Linked DNA regions of Homo sapiens: regions 1, 2, 3, 5 and 6 are each linked to region 4. The links are contacts of gene promoters, found by promoter capture Hi-C in human tissues and cell types (Jung and others, 2019). All regions are on one chromosome and are shown on one strand. Each heading gives the region's core, a stretch centred on a gene start or on the middle of the fragment in contact. The rest is flanking DNA. Distances are from core to core; before and after follow the strand shown.

Region 1 (3,637 bases), core at 46-2,545, 300 kb before region 4:
TATTGGGGGTTTTGTTAAATAGTATAAGCAGTAACTCAATGTTTTTTCAAATAGTGCTTGAATTCTTGACTCCAAACAATGGATGCTGTTTGGCATATGATTTGCATTTTTTCCTATAATATCCAAATTAACTGACCTCGGTTTTCCCCATCCCACCACCTGCCTTGTACCCTTTGCTCCCTTTCTTTCTTTCCATCTTTCTTTCTCTCTTTCTTTCTTTCTTTCTCCTTCCTTCCTTTCTTTCTTTCTTTCCCTTCTTTCTTTCTCCTTCCTTCCTTCCTTCCCTTCCTTCCTTCCCTCTTTCTTTCTTTCTTTTTCTTTCTTTCTTTCTTTCTTTCTTTCTTTCTTTCTTTCTTTCTTTCTTTCTTTCTTTCTTTCTTTCTTCCTTCCTTCCTTCCTTCCTTCCTTCCCTTCCTTTCTTTCACTTTAAGTTGTGAGATATATGTGCAGAACATGCAGGTTTGTTACATAGGTATACATGTGCCATGGTGGTTTGCTGCACCCATCAACCCATCATCTACATTAGGTATTTCTCCTAATGCTATCCCTCACCTAGCCCCCTGCCCCCCGACAGGCCCTGGTGGGAGATGTTCCCCTCCCTGTGTCCATGTGTTCTCATTGTTCAATTCCCACTTATGAGTGAGAACATGCGGTGTTTGGTTTTCTGTTCCTGTGTTAGTTTGCTGAGAATGATGGTTTCCAGCTTCATCCATGTCTCTGCAAAGGACATGAACTCATCGTTTTTTATGGCTGCATAGCATTCCATGGCGTATATGTGCCACATTTTCTTAATCCAGTCTATCATTGATGGGCATTTGGGTTGGTTCCAAGTCTTTGCTATTGTGAATAGTGCTACAATAAACATACATGTGCATGTGTCTTTATAGTAGAATGATTTATAATCCTTTGGGCGTATACCCAGTAATGGGATCACTGGGTCAAGTGGTATTTCTGGTTCTAGATCCTTGAGGAATCTCCACACTGTCTTCCACAATGGTTGAACTAATTTACACTCCCACCAACAGTATAAAAGCATTCCTGTTTCTCTACATCCTCTCAAGCACCTGTTGTTTCCTGACTTTTTAATGATCGCCATTCTAACTGGTATGAGATGGTATCTCATTGCGGTTTTGATTTGCATTTCTCTAATGACCAGTGGTAATGAGCTTTTTCTCATATGTTTGTTGGCCACATTAATGTTTCACGCCTTCTCTGCGGTGGATTCCCCCTGGTGGGCACTGATGTGGGTCACAAAGATCTACACATTATGTGCCTACTCCCTTGGCCCATCCACATTCTTCTTCCCAAGACTTCTTTGTTTCTGATTTTCTAATCTTGTTCATGTCAGATATTTGACCAACCAGGCAGACCATTTGCCACTTCCCTGGAGTCTATGTATATCCTTATTTCAGGTCACTTCTCCCTCCACACCAAGTTTGTGGCAAGGTATGCTTCTTGAATTTCTGCCCTTATTAATTTCAGGCCATCCCCTGAGTGACAGCATTCATTTTAGCATGCCATGATATCTTGGGCTGACTTCTCTGTGAGCCCCAAACTGAGTTTTTCCTCCTCAATCAGCTGGTCCTTGGGAAAACTTCCCCTGTGTCCATAAGCATGAGCCAGGAGAGAGGTGAGGTAGCTGGGGGATTCTTTCCTCATCTCCTGACAATCTCCTAGAACCTCTTAATTCCCTGGCACCTCAGTGAGAATGTAAACCTGGGAACACTTAAGCAGGGAGGTTGTAGGAATTTGGGCCAGCAAAACAGTGCCTGCCACACTAGCCAAAACCAGTTATAAAATGGAAATTTTAAAAAAATCCTATTCACTATATTAACCAGGAATAAATTTAATAATAAAGGCATAGAACTTATATAAAGAAAGCCATAAAATCTTATTGAAGATCTTAAAATAAGACCCCCAAAATTGGATAGACATAGTATGTTCCTGGTATTGGAAAACTTTATACCATAAAACATCAGTCCTCAAATTAACTTAGAAATGAAATGCAATTCAAATTAGCATCCAATGCTTGTTTCGTGGATGTTGGGAGTGCATGAAACTATTTTAAAGTTTATATGTAGTAATACCTATCTGAGAATGACCAGCAAGAGAAGTTTAAAAGGGAAAAATATCTGGGAGGTCCTCTTACAAAATTATGCAACTCACTATACTTTTTATGTATACGCATATATACCCACACACACATATATATATTATATATATATATATAATATATATACACACAATACTGAACTACACTATAATCTAATACACCACTGACAGAGAAAAAGGTAATAGATCAAGAACAAAATAGGTTCAGAAATAGATTACAGTCTATATGGGAGCAAAATACATACAAAGGTGGCATTTTAATTCCATGTGAAGAGGACCATTCATATATGAAATGATTCAGGAATAACTGGCTGGCTATCAGGGCTGGATGGAAAGCTATATCTCAAAACTCACATCATAAGCAAAAATAAATTCCAGATGAAATGCTCGAAAACTATGAGTTTGGAGAATGTTCAGTGCTACCCACACGAGAAGTAGGTGTGCTGGGCTCTGTCCTCAGGCAGGGAGTAACGAGAGCCTCATTGCTTCAAGCTTTGAACTTAAAAGCTTGAACTTGAAAGTTTCCCTGGCCAATGACTGAGATGATGAAGTGAACAGGTCCTGTGCCCTAAAGCACTTTTCCAAAATGAGTTTGTCCCTGCCCTGGGACAATGCATGTTTTGATCCCAGCTTGCCAAGATTAAGCTTTGTGTGCCTTGGAAAGTGACTTGACATCTCCAGACCTCAATTTCCTCACCCATGAAAGACTGTGGAAACTCAAAGAGAAGACAAAGGTAACACACTCAAAACAGTTCTTGGCACATAGTAAGCACCCGGTAAGTGCTACCCATTATTAGTTTTATTATTGTCATTAATATTGTTTCTGTTCTCCTCTGTTCAGCTAGCAAGTAAAATCAACTGGCTATTACCAGAAAACATCCTCCCTCAACATTCTGGGCATGAAGTGCTTCTCCTCTCATCATTAATACACAGGCACCGGTCCTGACAGAAACAGTTAAACCAGAGTGGGTCATGACTGCATTTATTCCCATTAGCATCTGCTTTCTAGTGCTTATTATAGTTATTATTATTATTGTTCTGCAGCCCCATGACTTTAACACATGGCTATTTATTTTCCTTTATAATTTTTTTCAAAGGCTGTTATCCCACTCTTTGTGAAAGTCCCACCTAACTAGGTCTACTTGGAGCCTATCATCTGCTAATGTATTTTTTTTTTCTGTTAAAGAAATTTTCCCTACTAACTTAGAAAAGGAAGAAACAGTGTCCAGCTTGACCTATCCAGTTAGACTAATCCCCATGTCATGATTGTTCTCTTTTAATTAGACTTCCCAACAGTTTTCCCAGGTCCAAACAGAGACTCCTCAGGGATCTGTGAGATCGGAAAAAGATTTTCCATAATCTTAGAAAAGCAGAAATCCTGAAACACATCCCCTTTTGCTCTATAACTGCAGAACTTGCCCTAGTGGGAAGCCCACTGTGGCCCCTTATGCATCCCAGACTCCTCCCAGCCATGCCTGAGTGTTCATTTCCTAGGTGGTTTCAGATAGTGCCAATTCTTATACTG
Region 2 (3,685 bases), core at 1,024-3,523, 490 kb before region 4:
GTTAGACTTTTTATTCCTTAGTGTTAAGTAAAGTCCGCCTGAAGAAAGCACTTTGGAAACCACAAAAAATACCACATTTTGATCCTGTCCTTGGAATAGGTCCCATAGTTTTACATAAAACTGATAGAGGAAGTTAGGCATTATCTTGGGTTACTTCAGCAAAGAGCAGGGCTCTTTGAAACACTTTTCCCCGAAGTTACTAATTTGCAGTCTCTTACATGCCCCTATTTCTTTGAAGCATTTCCTGTTCTTGTAGGGAGGGGTAGTTGTTCCCTGTGCTGCAGCATTTTCTTACGTAAGTCTTGTCTTCTGTGGGCATGGCATTGTTCACTAATAGCTTAGTCTCACTTTTTTTGCCCACTACCATGAAGAGTTTGATAGCAGGGTCTGCATTTCATTCCTCTTTTTGCCCTTAGTCTCCAGCGTGATGCTTGGTAGGTAGCAGGTATTAGATATTTTGAATAAACGCACACAGTATAGCAGACCAGTTTCTTAATGCACACAGTGTAGCAAACCAGTTTCCTAATGCACACAGTATAGCAGTTTCCTGAAATGCTACTCTCATTCCGTTAGCCTCCTACTTCCAGCCCTGCTTGCGTGGGCTGTGAAGATCTTTCTAATAGACTGAAAACAGATCCATAAAGCCGTATGTATGCATTTTTATGTACAACTAAACATTGTTAAAAATCTAAGTTTTAAAGGATTACTAAAATTTAATATTCAATCTAAATAGCACATTTCTGGAGACTATTAAGAACTGTGTATTAGGGTAGGTTGTCAGCTGTAATAACCACGGTATCAGTGGCTTATCACAGCAAAAGTTTATTGCTCACTCTTGTCACAAAGGAGTTCACTGGAATGGTGATAGGAAAAGTGAGTGCTTTGCTCTATGCATTCATCCAGCTCTGCACAGTCTCTCAGGAAGCAGGCTTCTTCCTTCTTGTGATGCCACCATTTAACACATGGCCTCCAAGATCAGTGCAGCGCAGGAGGAGAGAGAGGATCAAAGGAGGGTCATTTCTGTGTGCCAGGCCTAGTGCAGTATGCATTACTTCCACATATGTCCCATTGGCCAGAGCTCACCCGTGCCCCAGCCTCACTGCAACCTGTGAAGAACTGTGACTTAGCTGTATACGCAGAAGGAAGCTGAATTGGGTTTAGTGAGCTTACAATATTGTGTGTGCCATTGATGCCTAATCAGCTTGCTACTAAGAAGTCGGGATGCTGTCCAATGCTGGCATGCTGCAAAACTCCTATGACACATATACAGTAAGTAGTGTTGGAGTTCTTGTAATCTTCAGGAGAATGTTTTCTCAGTTTATTACTGGTACTAAGTTGTTTGTATTTTATAATTGCCACTAGTCTTGTTTTTTAATTGTAAGTCACAGGTTGTTTAGCATCATCAGTATCAACTAATTTTTTTCATGCTTTATCAAATAAATTGTCAACTAATTTATCATTTGGTTTATCACACAATTTGCGAAGTAATCCTTCTTTTTATCAGCAGTATATCATTTGCCAAAAACAAATATGCCTGAATGTTTGTTATACCATTTTTAATTTGTTCACAACAAATTATCTTTTAATATATTATAAAATCACAAATAATAAATTGTAAATAATGTTACCACCAGGCTGTTTTTCACTTAAAAGTGGAAATGATGGGTGTGTGTCTTCACCAAGCCAAATTTGTTCATTTCATTTCTTTTTTTTTTTTAACTAGGACATAGCAAGTTCTGGCTTATTTAAGAGTTCATGGAAGAGATGTATACCACTTTCAGGTCTGGCCCATGGAATGTCCTCTTAACACTCTTAACACAATCCTCCGTTTTGCCTCTTCCTCCATATCCTGGACCAGGGATTGGCAAACTAAGCTTGGAGGCCAAATCTGGCTTGCTGCCAGTTTTTGTAAAGTTTTGTTCGAACACAGCCGCATTATCGTCATAATTGTGTACGGTGGTAGCGTTGAGTAGTTGTGACAGAGACCATATGGCCCACAAAGCTAAAACTATTTATTGTTTGGGCTTTACAGAAATACTTTGCTGACCCCTGCAGTAGCTGAATGGAGAGGATCTTTGAGATGGGCAGAGCTGTAAGTAGGAGCAGCCTGGGTCTCTGCATGCAAGTGGAAGGCCCACCTGACGAGGAATAGCCAAGTGGCCCTTGTCCAAATGATAAATTCACAGGATATAAGTTACTGAGATTTATATATATATTTATTAGAGCACTTAGCATTATTTATCCTACTGAGGAGGGCACATGGGCTGTAGTACCTTTCGTTGTGTTTAAGAAAGCCCTAGTCAAAAAAGTTTAAGAACTACTGGTTTGCAACACCAAATCCAAACTCCTCTTTCTAACGTTCTAAGGCTTGTTGTATTTTAGGCTTTTCTTAACCTTCCAAGTTTTCTTTTACTGTTCCTCACCAACCTGTTCTAGGTAAGTTAATTTCCTTACTGCCATGTCTCTACACTGAGGTCCTTGTAAGCCATGCCGTCTTCATTCCCGGGCTCAATTGTGGGGTGCACTCTCAACTCATCTCTGAGTGTTCTTTTTTGAGTAATAACCTCGTGTTTCCCTTTGGATTTCTGCTGATATAGAAGAAGTAATTACTATACAATGTTTATTGTACTAGGTCTTATATTAAGCTGTGTAAGCTTCATAACAGTTGTGCAGAATCCTCTTTCTTGGGTGCACCACAGCACCTAGATTTGTGCATGACCTCAGTGCTGATCATCAAGGGCTCCTGGAGATTATTTTTTTTTAGCTACAATTTGTTGGGCCTCCCCTCTGACTGAATTAGAATCTTTAGTGAGTAGGCCCTGAAATGAAAATCAACATTTTAATAACTTCCCATTGACTATCGGGTTTAAAAATTGCTAATCTATATTATATCACCTACAGTGGTCCTCCTACTCTATGGGGATACATTCCAAGACCCCCAGTGGATTCCTGAAACCAGGCACAGTTCCGAACCCTATATATCCTGTGTTTTTTTTTCTATACATATATACCTATGATAAAGTTTAATTCATAAATTAGGCACAGTAAGAGAGTAACAATAATAATGAAATAGAACAATTACAACAATATGCCAGCATCACTCCTCTTGCACATTGGGGCCATTATTAAGTAAAATAAGGGCTACTCAAACACAAGCACTGTAATACTGCAATAGGCGACCTGATAGCCGAGATGGCTACTAAGTAACTAATGGGCAGGCAGTGTAGACAGTGTGGGTACACTGAACAAAGGGACTGAACAAAGGGATGATTCACATCCCAGGCAGTACAGAATCGGATGGCCTACCATGTCATGAGGCTACTCAGAAGGACACGCAAATTAAAACTTAGGAATTATTTCTGGAATTTTCCATTTAATATTTTTGGACTATGGTGGTTAACTGAAACTGTGGAAAGCAAAACCACAGATAAGGGGATGGGACTACTTTATTTCCTAAGCTTTCAGTAAGTATTCACTGTGAATGGAGATCAGGAATTGTGCTGGCAAATGCGTACTTAAATTAGACAACTTAGTCATATTAGCTCTGCTTGCAGGTCCCTAACTAAGGTAGAGGGTATAGTAAGGAAGTTAGCTTGGCTAAAACAGAGATATGGTGGAAAGGAGTAAAAGATATGGCTGAATAGGTTAAACACACACACACGCACGCACGCACCTAATGCACACA
Region 3 (3,420 bases), core at 875-3,374, 380 kb after region 4:
ACTTTCGGCGCTGGATACCAGGGGGCAGTGCTGCGCAGCGAATCTGCCGGGCTCCAGCCGGCAGCCCGGGGCAGCAAGTTTGCTGAATTCCCTCTGTCTCTCGAATCCGCTACGAAGTTCCTCCCAGGGCGCTCCTGACGCCAACAGCCCCCTCGCCCCGTAACATGCGAAAGAGGGCACGGTCCTCTCTGTCCGCGCGTTGCCGTCGGTGCGGGCGTCCTGGCTGTCTTTCCTTGGTAAAGGCAGCTACCACCGGGTTGGTTTTTGACCACTGACTTGGCCCTAGGGAAACGTAAGGTGGGGTGGCGGGGTGCCCCGTCGGGTTTTTGCAGGCCGTGTGAGCAACCTCAGAGTAGAGGTTTGAGGGGACTTTCTCAGCCTGGGCTGGAGCCCCCAAAAATGCAGGCGCCGCCTTTGAGAGGAAAAAAAAAAGCGCTGGAGGTTGGCCGCCTGCATTTGATCGCCTTCCGAGTTTACGTAGAAATCCATCCGAAGAAAGGTCCGATAGAAGGCGGAGAAGGCGGAGGCCCACCCCTGTCCAAGTACGAGCCATCCCCAAAGTACAGGGATGAGAAGGGGGGCTGAACCTTCTCTCCAGGACCCAGCGCCAGGCCCACTACACCCCCAGAATCGGTGTTGTTTGGGAAATGCCTTTCTATCCTAAAGGAGGCTGTGTCCAGGCTTAAAATATGCAGAAGCAGTGAGCAGACGGGACCCGGTGACGTGCGCGGGGCTTTTCCCACCCAAGGGGCTAGGAACTCCACTCCCTGTCCCGTCCCGGGGAAAGAGACCGAGCACTCGGCTCCGGGGCCAAATGTGAGTCCAGGAGCTTGGTGAAATAGAAACCGGACATATTCTCTTTGGACTCGGCCTCCTTTTGCTGGGATTTTTGTTTTTGGTTTCTCTCTCTCTCTCTCATAGCGCTTTGCAATACATAAAATAAAAACGCATGTCTGTGTGTGAATGCTTTGCCCGTTCTTTGAAGAATTCACACTTTAAAATTGCTTTCTGTGAGCGCAGAGGAAGAACATATAAACCACCGTTATGTAATTTGAAACCATCAATAGCCCCCTTTTAAGGTTGTCTTTATTGTGGGAAGTCAAGGTAATGATTTTGTCGCTGTCTAATTTCATCCCAATGTATGGCGTTGCTTTTATAGCCTTTCAAAGGTAAGTGAAAGGCATCAATCTAGGGCCCTTTTTCTGGCCGATTAACAGTTTAAACTGGTTTTCTAACCCTGTCACAACTATTGGGCTGATAAACAGGATTTCTGCGGAGGCATTAGCAAGTCTGTAAATAAATCATTAAAAAAAAAAAACACACACACACACACACACCACCTCAGGCAATTCTAAGTTCCTCTGACAAAAATAAACCATAAGTCCACAGGGGTGTATGTGTGTATGCATGTGTGTGTTTCTCACCTCCAAGAAGAGGTAGTTACAAGTGACCTCTCAAGAGTTATTTGTGTCCTGGTTATTATTATTACTACTATTGTCATAATCTTAGGAGAAAGTGAACAAGCTGACGACACAGGGATGGAAATCAATGAGCTTGTGGGTTCTGCATTGACTCTACCTTATTGTAGGAAATGTCCCCCTTTAATCATGGGTAAGCCTGGCGCTGCTGCCAACCTTCTTTGACATAGAACGGTCCAAATAGAAATATCCCGTTTTATTGCAACGGGTCCTTGGAAGAAGATACTTTATGTGGACGGTACTGGGACAACTGCTGAAGAAACGACAGACATGAAGGCATACTTGACACCAACATAGAGATACCCATCCGTCACCTTTGATCTCCCCTCCCCCATGCCACTGAGAAATAATTTTTTAAAAAATAGAAGCAAAATGGCAAACTAGACAATTTGAGACTTAAATAAAAATAGCTTTAGGCCCAGACCCACTGGAAGCTTTTTCTTTTTGACGCTGCCGTGTTTCTCTGATGCAACAGAAACCTCTGACCCCCCGCCCGGGGTCTCGCACCAAGGCCAGACAGCCCCGCTCCCGGGGTCACCCGAGGGTTACCTTTGGGTGCAGGCGCGGCCTTTCTCCGAAGGGAGGGGCAGCTCCCCTGCCCCTGCAAAATGAAGGAGAAATGATAAGCAGCGGTGAAACCGTCTAGAGGCCCAGCCTGGCACCCGCCCCGCCAGGTGCTGGGGGAGGCGACAGCCTGCAGCGCCAAGGGGATGCTCCTCGGGCGCAGCGGGCGGGACAGCTTGGGCTGTCCCTTTTGTTTTCAACGCTCCTCTTGCGGCGAGTTCCGGGAGTTTAGGGCCCCGGCCCAGAAAGGAAAAAGCGAGAAGGCGCGTCTGGGCTCTGTAGGAGTGCAGCCGCTGCCGAGTCCAAGCGGCCCCAGGCCAGGCCAGACGTTGAGGTGAGGTTGCCCAGCAGGCGGGGACCCCAGCTCGGAGAGGGTTCTCCGCGTCCCCAGCCGTCGGCGCAGGAAGTTGAGGCGGCCAACATGCCTTCGTCCCCACTCGACTCCCGGGCCCACGTGCTGGTCCACGCCGGGGACCTGAGAGCATCGCGACTAGGGGGCTGCGGGACGCCTCCCGAGCGTCGAGGAAAGACAGGACCGGGGGGAGCAGGCGGGGCCCACGCGGTTGCATTTCTCGCCCCGCCGCCGCCTTCAAGAAGCAGAACCCGGAGCCCCACCTGCACCCTCACTCCGGCCCCCGAGCCCGGCCTGGCCGGCAGTGCTCGGGGAGGCCCTGGGTGGCGCTGTCTCCTCCCCTCCTGCAAACGCCACCGCCAGAAAATCGCTCCCACCCCACCCGGCCAGGCGAGCCACCGACCCGGGGCTGCGTCCGCCTCGGTTCAGCCTCGGTTCAGCCTCTCCGGGTGCGGATCCCGGACCCGGCCAGCAGACGGAGGCTGGCGGAGCGCAGAGTCCCGGCGACTCCCACCTCCCGGAGGGGGCACGGGGACTTGCGTGGGGCGGGCGGGGGCCGGGATTCCGGGCGGGGCGAAGGGACCCAGCTCGGCTGCGGGGCGCGCGGTCGCTCTCCCTCAGGACTGCGGCTCGGATCCCTCCCTACCTCTCCCGGTCCCTCGCAGGACTCTACATCGCCTTCGGCGTTTCCTCTCCCTCCCGCAGTTTCCACCCTTCGGCTTGTCTTACTCTCGGCTCCTTCGCCCACCCTTTCCTCCCCATCCTGTCCCCCGCCCCCACTCTTCTGCAGTTTGTAACTGAGAGCGCCCCAAACAACCCCATCAAGCCAATAAACCCAAAATGTGAGCACTGCCCAAACCCGTGTGCTTATCCTGCCGCTTCTAGAAGGCAAATTGATACGGGGTGGATTTGGAACGGCTTTCTCAGAGAGGCCCGAAAGCTTTCAAAAATTCTAAGTCAGGAGACAGCTGGCTGTTTTCTTAGCACCTCTGCAGCGCTGAGGATGTCTTCATCCTCCTCAGACAC
Region 4 (3,757 bases), core at 864-3,363:
GGGCAGCCCTAAACTTTTCAAGCAAAGCCTCAGAGTTTTGGGTTCACTCATTAGCATAGGAAATCGATTCACCGAAAACCCAAACAAAGAAAAACAAGCCGACAGTCCAGGCAGGATGCAGGCAAATCCAGTTCGGGATTAAGGGTAAAAGGCTTTTTGGGTTTTTTTTCCTTTGGTTTGATTTTTTAAAATATGGGGAGGGGGGTGACATCTACCCGATTCTAGGCTCCGGCAGGAACGCAATGGGTTAATGAATGGACAAGCCGCGGAGTATTGATCGGCTGCCGCCGGAGGTAGGTCTTTTACTGACTCCAATCCGTAAACTAATTACTCCTTTTTCTGAAGTTTTAACTCTCCTCCTCCCACCCCGTACCCAGAGAAAAACAAACAAATAAAAAATATCGCAAGAAATGAAAACACACGAACAGATATTTCCCTCTAAGACAGTTTCCTGACCAGGTTCTTTTTTTTTTTTTTTAAAGAAAGAAAGAAAAACAAAAACCAGACCGAACCTGCCTTCCCGCTGTGGCTGCTCGGCGCCCCAATTAAGCAGGTCGCGGCGAGAGCGCCAAGCCCTGGAGCTTTCCTCCCGCACGGGTTCCCGCCCCTCCCCAGGCCTCCGAAAAGCAGGAAAGAAAAAACAAATCCCATACTTTTCTCCCGGGGCGCGAGGATCCTCTCGCCTCCAGAAGAGGGTGGAAGACTAAGAAGCCGCGGGTCTGGACTGAAGGGGCGCAAAGTGGGTGGTGAACAGGGTCGAACGCAGTCGAAAGCAAGCCTGGCGGCCGAGTCCTGTCCGCGCCCCTCGGAGCCAGGACGGTTGGGGGCATTGCCGAGGGTACCAGGAGCCTGGGGATCCCGCGGGCTCTGGGCTCCGCGGCGCCGGGCACGCACAGCCCAGCCTGCTCTGATTCGAGCGCACTGGGGGACAACTTCTCCGTTCGCACCCCTTCCCAAAGGGTCAAGCGGCCCGCAGGCCATCACTCCAAACCAGTCGTAGCTTCGGAGACTGGGGATCGACACCACGCCCGGCCCCGCGCCGCCTAGTTTCCCAACAGGGCGCGCTGGCCCGCGAGCCGGAGGAACCTCCGCCCAGGCCTTGCCAAGCGCCCACCCGGAGCAGGCCGGGGGCAGTGAAGGATGCGGCGGGAGCGGCGCGCTGCAGTTCCGCGACGTGGCACGTACCTTGGAAGCGATGACCCAGATATCGGTAGCGGTGGATGAGCCAGGGGTAGAAGGTGGACGGATCCCGCTGCTGCGAGGCGAATAGGGGGTGTGGCGAGTGCGAGGAGGGTAGGGGGTGGGCGGCCAGGGCGTGCGGCGGCGGCACCGGGTGCACTGGCACGGCGGGGTTGGGCGGGTGCGAGACCGCCTCGGCGAACACCAAGTCCGGGTTGGAGTAGACGCCCCTACCGGCGGCGGCGGCGGCGGCCGAGTGGAAGCCGTTGAGGAACGGATTTATGGGGCTGGAGTTAGCGTAGCTGAGTGCCGCGGGACGGATGGGGTCCTCGGAGCGCGAGGCGGGCAGGGGACTGTCCTTGGCCACCAGCGACTCGATGGTGAAGCAGCGCTTGGGCGCCGGCTGGAACATGCTGCGCCGAGGAGCGGGCGCCCTGGGCTCCCAGCTCCTGGCGACCGCCGCACGCTGCCTCCGCCGCCCGCTGCCCGCGGCGAGGACGGACGAGAATTGGGGACTCGTTTGTTTGGGGTGGGGGTGGGGGTGGGGGGAAGGAAAGGAAGAAAGAAAGGAAAGGAAAGGAAAAAGGAAAGGAGGGGGGAGGGAGAGGGAGAGGCAAAGCCGAGGATCCCGAGAATCTTGCACCAAACGCGCCCAACCTGAAGAGAGGGGGGAAAATCCTTCCAGAAGAATTTGCAGGCGTGGATTGGGGTAATTTTTTTTCTTTTTTTTTCTTTTTTTTTCTTTTTTTTTTTTTTTTTTTTTTTTGGCGAGATGGCGTGGGGGGATCGGAGTTAGAGGCAGGGAGGAGAAGGGGGGAAAGTTCTCGGGGGAGGCAAAAAAAAAAAAAAGTTTTTTCTCCTCTGCAAAAGGCGGGCAGGGCGCCCTAAGTCCAAGGACAATCCATGGAAGTGTTCGCTTCTTCACAAGTTGTGCAAACGATTTGTTAGTTCATGAGCCTAATTAGTGCGGGGATCACATAAACAGCTTCCTCCGAAGCCTGGTAAATGGCTTGATGATTGGTCGCTATTACTCGCCCTGAGGTGGAAGGGGGGAGACTCTTTAAAGTGCGTCAGAGGGAGGTGAGCGCCTGGGAACCCGGAGGCCTGGATCCGGGCCGAGAGTGGAACGGAGTCGGCGCCGCCGCCTCGGCTGAGCCTTCTGCCGCCCACCGGGCGGCCGGGCTTCTCCGCGCCTTCGCCCCTCGCTCCCAGCTCACTCGCTCCTGCGGCGCCCGCTGCGGCTTCTCCTCCTCCTTCGCCTCCTCCTCTTCCTCCAGTTTCTTCTTCTCCTCCTCCTCCTCTTCTTCCTCCTCCTCCTCTTCTTCCTCCTCCTCTTTCCCCACCTACTCCCCCTCAGCCACCGCCTCCTCCTCCACCAGCACCACTCCCTCCGGGGCACCCCGGTCCCTGCAGAGTCCCTGGCCGGCGCCGCCTCCGCTGCGGCCCCCTGAATCCCGAGCCTGCCTCGCCCAAGCTGGTAGGACAGAAGGACAGACAGATTCCTCTAGCCTAGCGCTCCGCCGCTGCTGCCTTACGCGGCCCCGCGTCGGGAGAACTGGGATCGCCCCAAGAGCACCGCGAGGGTAAGCGGGCAGGGGCTGGTTCCCGGGCTAAAGGCGCCGTTCGGTTATACCAATCCCCACACTTAGCAAAACTCCCAGCGGTTTCCTAGGCCAGGAGGGATCCTGGAGTGAGGGGTACGGGGTCCTCCCACCCCATCAACCACGCTTAGCCTCGAGGTCCCAGGGTCGGTGCGTTCGCGATTCTTGACCCGGCTCGTTCGTTTGCGAGTTGAGACCGGGAGCTGCCGACCCCGCCGGAGCAGTGGGCTTCCAACTCTCTCCCTCTCTCGCCCCACGGTCTCTAGCGTTTTCTGTCTGGGAGGGTGCTCACCTCCTTCCCCAAAACAATTCCTTCTGGAATATCTGGGACCGGCAGTCCAAGGTCAGGGGAGAGCCCGATATGGTGCTACTGTACTATTAAGGTTCCGTCGTAATTATTTTTGTCAGTGTGGTCAATGTTATTATTATTATAGATGATATTATTTTATTATTATTATTTCTATTATTATTATTATGCCATCTGTTGTCCCGGGGTTGGTGGGGGGGTGGTGGTTGCTGTGCAAACCCAGTGCAACTAACGACTACGGATCGCATCTCCGGTCCCGGGCCGTGTCCGCATTTTCGAGCTCGCCTTCGGTTTTGGGATGATTTTAGGACCGAGTTCCCTCGTCCCCATTGGCTCGCGCGGCGGCATAATTATGATCACATCCCCAGGCTGCTGGCGCTGCTCTCTGTTTATTGGTGGTTAAAGATCTATTATCTATTCATCAGCCGCCTCTTTTTTCCTTTTTTTCCTTTTGCCAATTACATTCTTCTAAAGTGAAGTACCAGCAGGTATTTTGCACGTTTACAATTAATGATAAAAAAAAATTCTAGCGTCGTTTAAAACTATTACTCCCAGGCCCCTGTCATTTCTCCTAAGAACGCAGAATTGCCTGTGTTTGGTGACTAGGTTGCCGTGAAACCTGGGAAGCCGATGGCAATGGGAGGAGAAGAGTGAAGTCCACCGTGAGCCA
Region 5 (3,516 bases), core at 189-2,688, 420 kb before region 4:
TAGAAGAAAAGCACTATTTATATTGAAGGTATTCATATACTTTATTGCTAGTTTTTTTATGTCAGCATTGAATAATAGTCTAGAGAAACCACAATTTAAACTATTTTAAAATAAGTCAGTCTTGAATTTTGCACTTAAAGGGTGTGGATTTTTCATGAAACATAATGCAAAGCATATATTGGGAGGGTTTATTTTACTGACAAATACCACTGATGATCCACTTTTTTGGTGGGTGGTATGAGGCTAGTTCAAAACAAGCATGAAGTGAGTGAGTGGTATCGGAAGACAGAAAGACACACATAAACGTACACCTACAGAGTTTTCTGCAAAGTTTATGCAGAGCACTCAATTTATGCAAATTTCATGCAACATACACACATATGGCTACATAGAGCTATGTATGCATCCCAGACACTTATTGATCACTGAGAAATTATTAAGCCAATGTTGTCATGTATGTCTAACTCAGTAATGGGATTTTCACTAGGTGAAATTATTATTTTTATTTTTAAATCCTTGCTGTGATTATTTTAAAATCTACATATCATGTGGGTTTGGATATTATGCTGAAGTCAAATTATTATGAACTCTGAAATGGCTAAATTCATGAGCTAGTTAATTTCTACGACCATTGCAAAGATGACATTGTATTGCTATGAATTTTAATTAAAATAGCAGACTTTGTTTAATCCTTTTATTAAAAAACCGCCCTACAATGCAAGTAAAAAGTTTATGCAAGAAAGCAGTTAATTTTTGAAATGTTTAAATATCTTTTCTGTTTAAATCTCATAAACGTAGCCCTCCATCAATCCATTTTTTCCTTAGAAGGCGGTTTTCCACCTATTTTTTATAAAAACTAGAGCCTGAAATTTACTTTAAGTATAATTAGGGCCCTAAAATGTATGGTTGCTCTCTGAAAACTATATCTCCAAGCTCTTTTGCAATACAAGTTAATTAACTGGATTTAGATATTTGCAAGATGATATATTTAATGGGATTACTGCTCATATAATGTTCTCAGTGACTGATTTGCAATCTAAGCTCACGAAACCGAGTGCTGAATTTCCAGCTCTTTGAGAGTTAATGTTGTGTTAAGGAAAGGTACAGTTTGAACCTCATTGTTCATGAATAGGTGAGTTATTCCCGTGAAATGGAGCTGGGCCCTACGAGGGGTGCAGCAGGCAGATGCATGATCAGAAGCCCGCAGACCATCACATTCCAGCAACTGCCCCAGGTAGCTGGATCCCCACACCTGAACTTCTGAGAAGTTCAAGGCAATTGTGTGTTCCATCAAAATATAATGGCCCATTATTCACAGTCTGTCTCCTAAGTGGGATCAATTAGTTGCTCCTGCTCCACAGGCTTAAACACCCATATTTTGGTCGGCTGTGAGTCCAAATGAAACCATACATAACCATTCTGCCACTGTGAGCACTGAACGTTCTAAATCCATCTTTCAATGCAGGCATTCAAAATATTTGTGATTATTTTTATCAGGCTGGGTGGATAGATAAGTAATAATTTGCTTGGAGGGAAGAACTGTCAGCCTTCCAAAAAAAAAAAAAAAAAAAAAAAAAAAAAAAAAAACCCTTCCTATTCATGTCTGCCTTTGTCTCTTTTGCTCTTTTTTTGTTAAGCAAATATATTTCTGCCCGTCAATTGGGTTCACTCTGATGTTATGGCTTCAGTCATTGAACATGACACTACTAATGAATATAATTTAAATCTCTCTGAGCAGAAGACTACTGTAAAAATAGCATTTTAACTAAAATGTTGAAACTTTTATTAAATGTATAAATATTAGCTGAGTCAAATCACTATTAAGAGAAAATTTAAATTCTCTCTTAGTTTAGAAGTCTATATAATGGTATATCCAATTTCTCCTTTTCATTGGAACTTAGCGAGTAAAATAATTCTTTGTACTTGACCTAACAAGATTATTTCCAGGGATTCATAAATGCAGACTGTACTTTGTACCTAGCTTCTAGATAACCGTTGAACTCTCTCACAACAAATGGATGACTTTAAAAAGAAGCTTGTAACGTAGTCATGACTGTTTCCCCCAGTCTTTCTCTAGGTACTCATACAGATGACTGCAGACAAAAATGAAAGAGCAATTTGAATGCAGATCAAAAAGCCAGAAGCCAGAATCAACAAACCCAAGGATTGAGTCAGCTGTGAGGTCATTTGGTCTAGATTTGCTTTATGGAGGGGTAGACTGTTGCCCAAAGAGGTGGTGTAACTTGCTGGATGGGAGAACCAAAGCGTGGGTCTCATTCAGCTCCTGAAGCTCCCTGGTGGAAGGCTAGGCTCAGGGAAATGGCTGTGAGAAGGGAAGGGATATATATGAAGGAGGGAAGGTGTCTGACTTCTGCTCTTCTTTCTTCCCTAACACTCTACTGAGTCAGAAGCAGCTCACAGGCTGCTCCCCACAGCTCCCCTGTACCTGTCAGGTAAAGTGAGTTTAGACCGAAACACCTGTGGATGGGGAATTCCCTCACCATGGTTGGGGATTTAGAGGTTAGCATACACCAATAAGCCCTGCAGTGATTTTAGAGGGCTCCTGACTTGACTTGTTGGGGTTCACCCCACCCTCTCTCTTAGCTATCTTGCTTCCCTTCTCCCTACCCTTCTAATTTGCCCAGTAGCTGACGGGTTTCCTAGGTCCCTGAACCCTTCTTTTTTACCCACCATAGATGAAGCCTTCACTGCTCATCTGCACTGTTGTGTGTTTCAGCTTTGGAGGTTCATGGAAAGAACTATTTTTCTACCTTATTGAACTCTTCCTAAGTCAAGAGAATTGGATTCAACCTCCCTGCCCTTTTCACCTCATTAACCTCTATCCTTTCCTTAGATCTCAGTTCATTTTCAAGCCTTCCCTGACCTGCATCACCAGGTCAATCCCTGCATCAGAGGCTTCCATAGCATCATATAGCTCTCCCTGTAGCACTTAACAGAATTGTAATTTTATATGCACTTATGTGCTGTTTCTAATATAAGTTTTTATTTTGAAATAGTTAAGACCACACGACGTTACAACATGAGTACTGAGAATTCCCGTATACCCTACTCCCAGTTTCCTCCAATGGTAACATCGTCCATAACCATGGTACATGGTCAAAACTAGGAATTGACATTGGCACAGTGCTATTGATTCAGGTAAAAACCTTACCCGGATTTCCACATTTTTTACATGAATGTTGTGTATGTATAGTTTCATCAAATTTTAGGTTCTGGTAACTATCACCACAATCAGGATACGAAACTCTTCTTTCACAATTGAGAAGTGACTTCATGTTACCTTTTAATAATTTCATCCTTTCCCCAGCCCTAACCCCTGGCAACTACTGATCTGTTCTTCATTACTTTAATTTTGTAAATTGAGGAATGTTATATAAATGGAATCATAAAATGTTTAACCCTTTGGCAATGGCTTTCTACATGCATCGTGGTTCCCTTGAGAGCCAACCAAGTTGTTTGCATGCAGCAGTCATTTGTTCTCTCCTATTGCTGAGT
Region 6 (3,569 bases), core at 837-3,336, 460 kb before region 4:
TTCTACAGGAGCTGGTGAAACACAAAGAACTCCTTAGGAGGAAAGACACCCACATCCGGGAACTCGAGGACTACATCGACAACCTCCTTGTAAGGGTAATGGAAGAAACGCCCAGTATTCTCAGAGTGCCGTATGAACCATCCAGGAAAGCTGGCAAATTCTCTAACAGTTAATAAAGCCAATTGTATTGTATTGATAATTGGACAAAGAGAGAGAAAGAAAGAAGGAAGGAAGGAAAAACTTGTTACTGAAAGAGACTACACTATCAGGTTTCATTACATATTCTCCTTTATTGTGAAGAGTAGTTTTACCTGTAAATATTAGCAGGGACTATCAAGAGTGACCTTTGAAGCAAGCTAAATCATTTAAATGTTTAAATTGAAAATGGGCCAGATTCTCAATGAATAAGTGGTTCCTTAGGACTCACTCAGGTGCTGGTACTGACCCACTAATCTGCCATAGGCCCAGAAATATCTTCAGAAGTACGTGAGTTGTTCCTCAGGAATAGATTTTTCATAAAGCAGAATTGATCCTGTGGCTGGTTTCTCAGAAATCAGTTTGTAGAAATATTTAGCTTCAGGAATACTGCTCGTTATAAACACTACTAAAAAAACAGTTTATATTTTATATACACATATGTACATGAATATATATATATTCATGTATCTTGTATATAAAATATAGGCATATACCTCATATATACATGTGTTTTTAGAACATTTAGAAACAATTGATTGCCTCTAAAGTTAGGCTACCAATTTCTTGATTTGAAAATGTGTGTGCTCTATTGATGCAAGACAAGTCATCCTTCCTACTGTCATGGTTTGTTATAGAGAAGCTGCTTCAAATCACTCTTGACTACATGGACCTTGGTTTCAAAGTGAGCTGCTATATATTATTCTAGCATCAAAGTTTTTCTCTTTCCCCAAAAGTGATGATCTCAAGTCCTTTTTTAAAGAATGACAAATTTTAGGAGACTTCATTAACTTCATAACAGCATGAATTTATTTGAATTAATTAACATTTGAGTTTGTTTAAGGTATAAGCAGAAGATAAGCTAATATAGCTTGTTTTGTTGAAATTCTGCATGCCTTTAAATCACTAGCAAAGCAAATATTATAAAGTTATATCTGAAAATAATTGTGGGAAGTATGTGATTGCCTGGTGTGTCTGATAACCCAAAGCAGCGGGCAGATTCCAGGAATGAAGAATTAGGCTTGGTTTCAGGTTACATAAATAATAGAGCAGATGGTTGCCTTTGGGTCTTGAACCAAAATAAGACTTACTAAAGGAAGAGTGAGTTTTTAGAAGAGAACTTTACGAGCGTGACATTATGCATTACTCCACATCCACCCTTTAAGAATTGATTTATTACAAAATTATGTTCTATTTTAAAGTCCACTCCCCCAAAATACTGATTTCTTCCATGGATTATTTTTATATGATTTGTACAAATTTTTTCTGAAATTTAAATTGACAAGCAATGTTATAAAAATATTGCTAATCTTCTGCTTATTTTTCAGCCTTTAAAGTCTGAAATACTATAAAACACTGAGAGTATCTATGTCTTTCTGAATTTAAAATGAAAATTCATGTCCATATGGAGACTTACATATTCCCCAATCTTTCCATGAATTGCATTTTTTTCTAATACTTATCTCTGTTAAGACTCCATTGAAAGTTAAACAAAAAGCCGATATAATAGTTTGGGTTTTTTTTTTTTGCTTATTTTAGTATTTTGAATCAGAGAATACTTGGCCAAGCTCGTATTTGTAAACTAAAACCCCTTGTTATTTGTATCTTCTGCATTTCAGTTTTACTGTAAGAACATACATTTTGAAATTATGAACATTTTTTTCATAAAAATTAAATGCTTTAAGAAATGGAGAAGGAAAAATAGCTTTTATCAATTTTTTTCTCCTCAAGATTCTGTAATAAACCTCAAAGTCTGGTGTAGAATGGTATTTTCCCGTTTGAGGTCTTGGTAGTTTTTTTTTTTTTTTTAAACATGGTGCCACTTTTAATTAACTAAATGTTACAAAATTCTCAGCATTTGTTTTTGTCTGGTAGTATTATTGAGTCTTTTCATACACTTCTTAAAATGTGAAAATCTATGTTTTCAGTATTATGACAGTATCTGCAGATACTATAATAATATGCTTTGGCCAAATTTGCTGTTTATAGAGTGAACCAAGATGTCAGTTTTGTATTGGGGATATGTTTTACATAAATAGAACTCATTTAAAAGTATGGTTCAAGTACTGCTCTTCTTTTTATGGGGAAATTGATTTTTAAGGAGCGATTCTTTTCCTATATAAAAGCTATTGAGGCTTAGCTTTATTCATACATGAGTGATTTGGTTATAACTCAATCAAAATTTTTATCTTTAAATCTGAGACAAGTATTATATTTAAAACTAGATCTATTAATACATTCATCACTGCCTGAAAATTTGCTGTTCTAATGTTTGTGAATTTTCACTCATTACCTAGAGTAAACTTATTGCATATTTTCATAATCAGTCAAAATAATAAAACTAAAAACAAAAAGTAAAAATTAGTTCCCAAGTAAATATATCAGTGTTTCCTGTGTTTGGGCAGAAGTGCAAAGTAGTTTTAATTTCTCACGTTGTAGAAAAAGAGGCCAAAAAGGTCACCTTAGTTTATTTTTCCAAAACATAACTTTAGGTATTCTAATGTATTTTGTTAGTTGCTTAGAAATGGAAATAAAATATATGTGCTTATTAAATAATGCACAGTACACTAGATTATAGAGTTTATTTTTGCTTTTATGCTTTAAAGAATGCATGCCCAAAACACTACTACCAACAAGAGGATTTTTTAAAATCACAGAATTGATATTTATCTCAAGACTATCTTAAGCTAATGTACTTCTGTTACATAATTAAACTATTTCTGCTATTATTTTTAAAGCAGTATTATTTTATAACCAATTCTAAAATTCAGCTTTAAAAATATTGAACATACCTTCCTACCACTTACGCTTCAAGTTTCATTTATTGAATACCAGGGTCATATCTTAGAATTGTATATAAAACAACATGTAACCCATTCATGAAAAACGTTTTTAAGTATTGCTTTTTGCTGCTATGTTCTGCATTGAGCCTAGTTTTGCCATTGTCCCCTGAATGTAGTATTATCTATAGATTATACATAACTACATCTATTGCTTTTGGTGGTAAATCAAGATTTAGTTGTAATTTTCCAGCTGTGAAAATGTTGCCTTGTATTTAAAAGGGTTTCATGAATGGAAACCTAAGTAAAACTAAGCTCATTAGTGACAGACTTGTTTTCTTCTTGTTATTCCTCCAGCAACTCCCTCACCACCACGCCTCCCTGCCTACCATCCCCGGAAGGGTGCTTATTCTTTAACAAAGAGAATCTAAAAAAAAAAACAAAAAACTGTTGTCTAATATATCTACAGTAAATGTTACACTAGAGCTTTTATTTTCCTCTGTAGCTTTTCAGAAGAAGCAATTTACCTTGGATTTGTAAATCAAGCTGAAACTTTTTTGATGTTCATGTACTCATATGTCTTGTAGGTGGTAG

The links. The method cuts DNA at HindIII sites, captures the fragments that hold promoters and counts their contacts. A contact is called where the count stands out against the background at its distance.
Region 1: a fragment that was not itself captured here is called in contact with the fragment with the promoter of EMX2 in region 4 in 2 of the 25 tissues and cell types used here (lymphoblastoid cells and small bowel).
Region 2: a contact is called between a fragment that was not itself captured here and the fragment with the promoter of EMX2 in region 4, in 1 of the 25 tissues and cell types used here (H1 embryonic stem cells).
Region 3: a fragment that was not itself captured here is called in contact with the fragment with the promoter of EMX2 in region 4 in 1 of the 25 tissues and cell types used here (H1 embryonic stem cells).
Region 5: a contact is called between a fragment that was not itself captured here and the fragment with the promoter of EMX2 in region 4, in 2 of the 25 tissues and cell types used here (H1 embryonic stem cells and mesendoderm cells).
Region 6: a fragment that was not itself captured here is called in contact with the fragment with the promoter of EMX2 in region 4 in 1 of the 25 tissues and cell types used here (dorsolateral prefrontal cortex).

What each region holds. Positions count from the first base shown.
Region 1 is chr10:117,844,858-117,848,494 of GRCh38, reverse strand. No RefSeq gene overlaps it. Among named protein-coding and RNA genes, the nearest start is that of LINC02674, 110 kb to the right of the region's middle. The HindIII fragment of the contact is 8,189 bases long and covers 1-3,637 here.
Region 2 is chr10:118,032,389-118,036,073 of GRCh38, reverse strand. The region is part of intron 3 of RAB11FIP2 (RAB11 family interacting protein 2); the gene reads left to right. Among named protein-coding and RNA genes, the nearest start is that of CASC2, 13 kb to the left of the region's middle. RefSeq lists a silencer at 254-447. The HindIII fragment of the contact is 3,555 bases long and covers 496-3,685 here.
Region 3 is chr10:117,162,558-117,165,977 of GRCh38, reverse strand. The region is part of intron 1 of MIR3663HG (MIR3663 host gene); the gene reads left to right. Among named protein-coding and RNA genes, the nearest start is that of MIR3663, 3.5 kb to the left of the region's middle. RefSeq lists an enhancer at 1-385. The HindIII fragment of the contact is 6,183 bases long and covers 1-3,420 here.
Region 4 is chr10:117,541,102-117,544,858 of GRCh38, reverse strand. It overlaps EMX2 (empty spiracles homeobox 2), which reads right to left and starts at 2,113. Exons shown (of 3, transcript NM_004098.4): 1 at 1,186-2,113. The coding sequence starts at 1,591. It also overlaps EMX2OS. RefSeq lists enhancers at 1-275, 276-898. The HindIII fragment of the contact is 12,526 bases long and covers 1-3,757 here.
Region 5 is chr10:117,959,215-117,962,730 of GRCh38, reverse strand. No RefSeq gene overlaps it. Among named protein-coding and RNA genes, the nearest start is that of CASC2, 86 kb to the left of the region's middle. The HindIII fragment of the contact is 7,704 bases long and covers 1-3,516 here.
Region 6 is chr10:118,005,602-118,009,170 of GRCh38, reverse strand. It overlaps RAB11FIP2 (RAB11 family interacting protein 2), which reads left to right. Exons shown (of 5, transcript NM_014904.3): 5 at 1-3,569. The coding sequence ends at 173. Among named protein-coding and RNA genes, the nearest start is that of CASC2, 39 kb to the left of the region's middle. The HindIII fragment of the contact is 8,693 bases long and covers 1-3,569 here.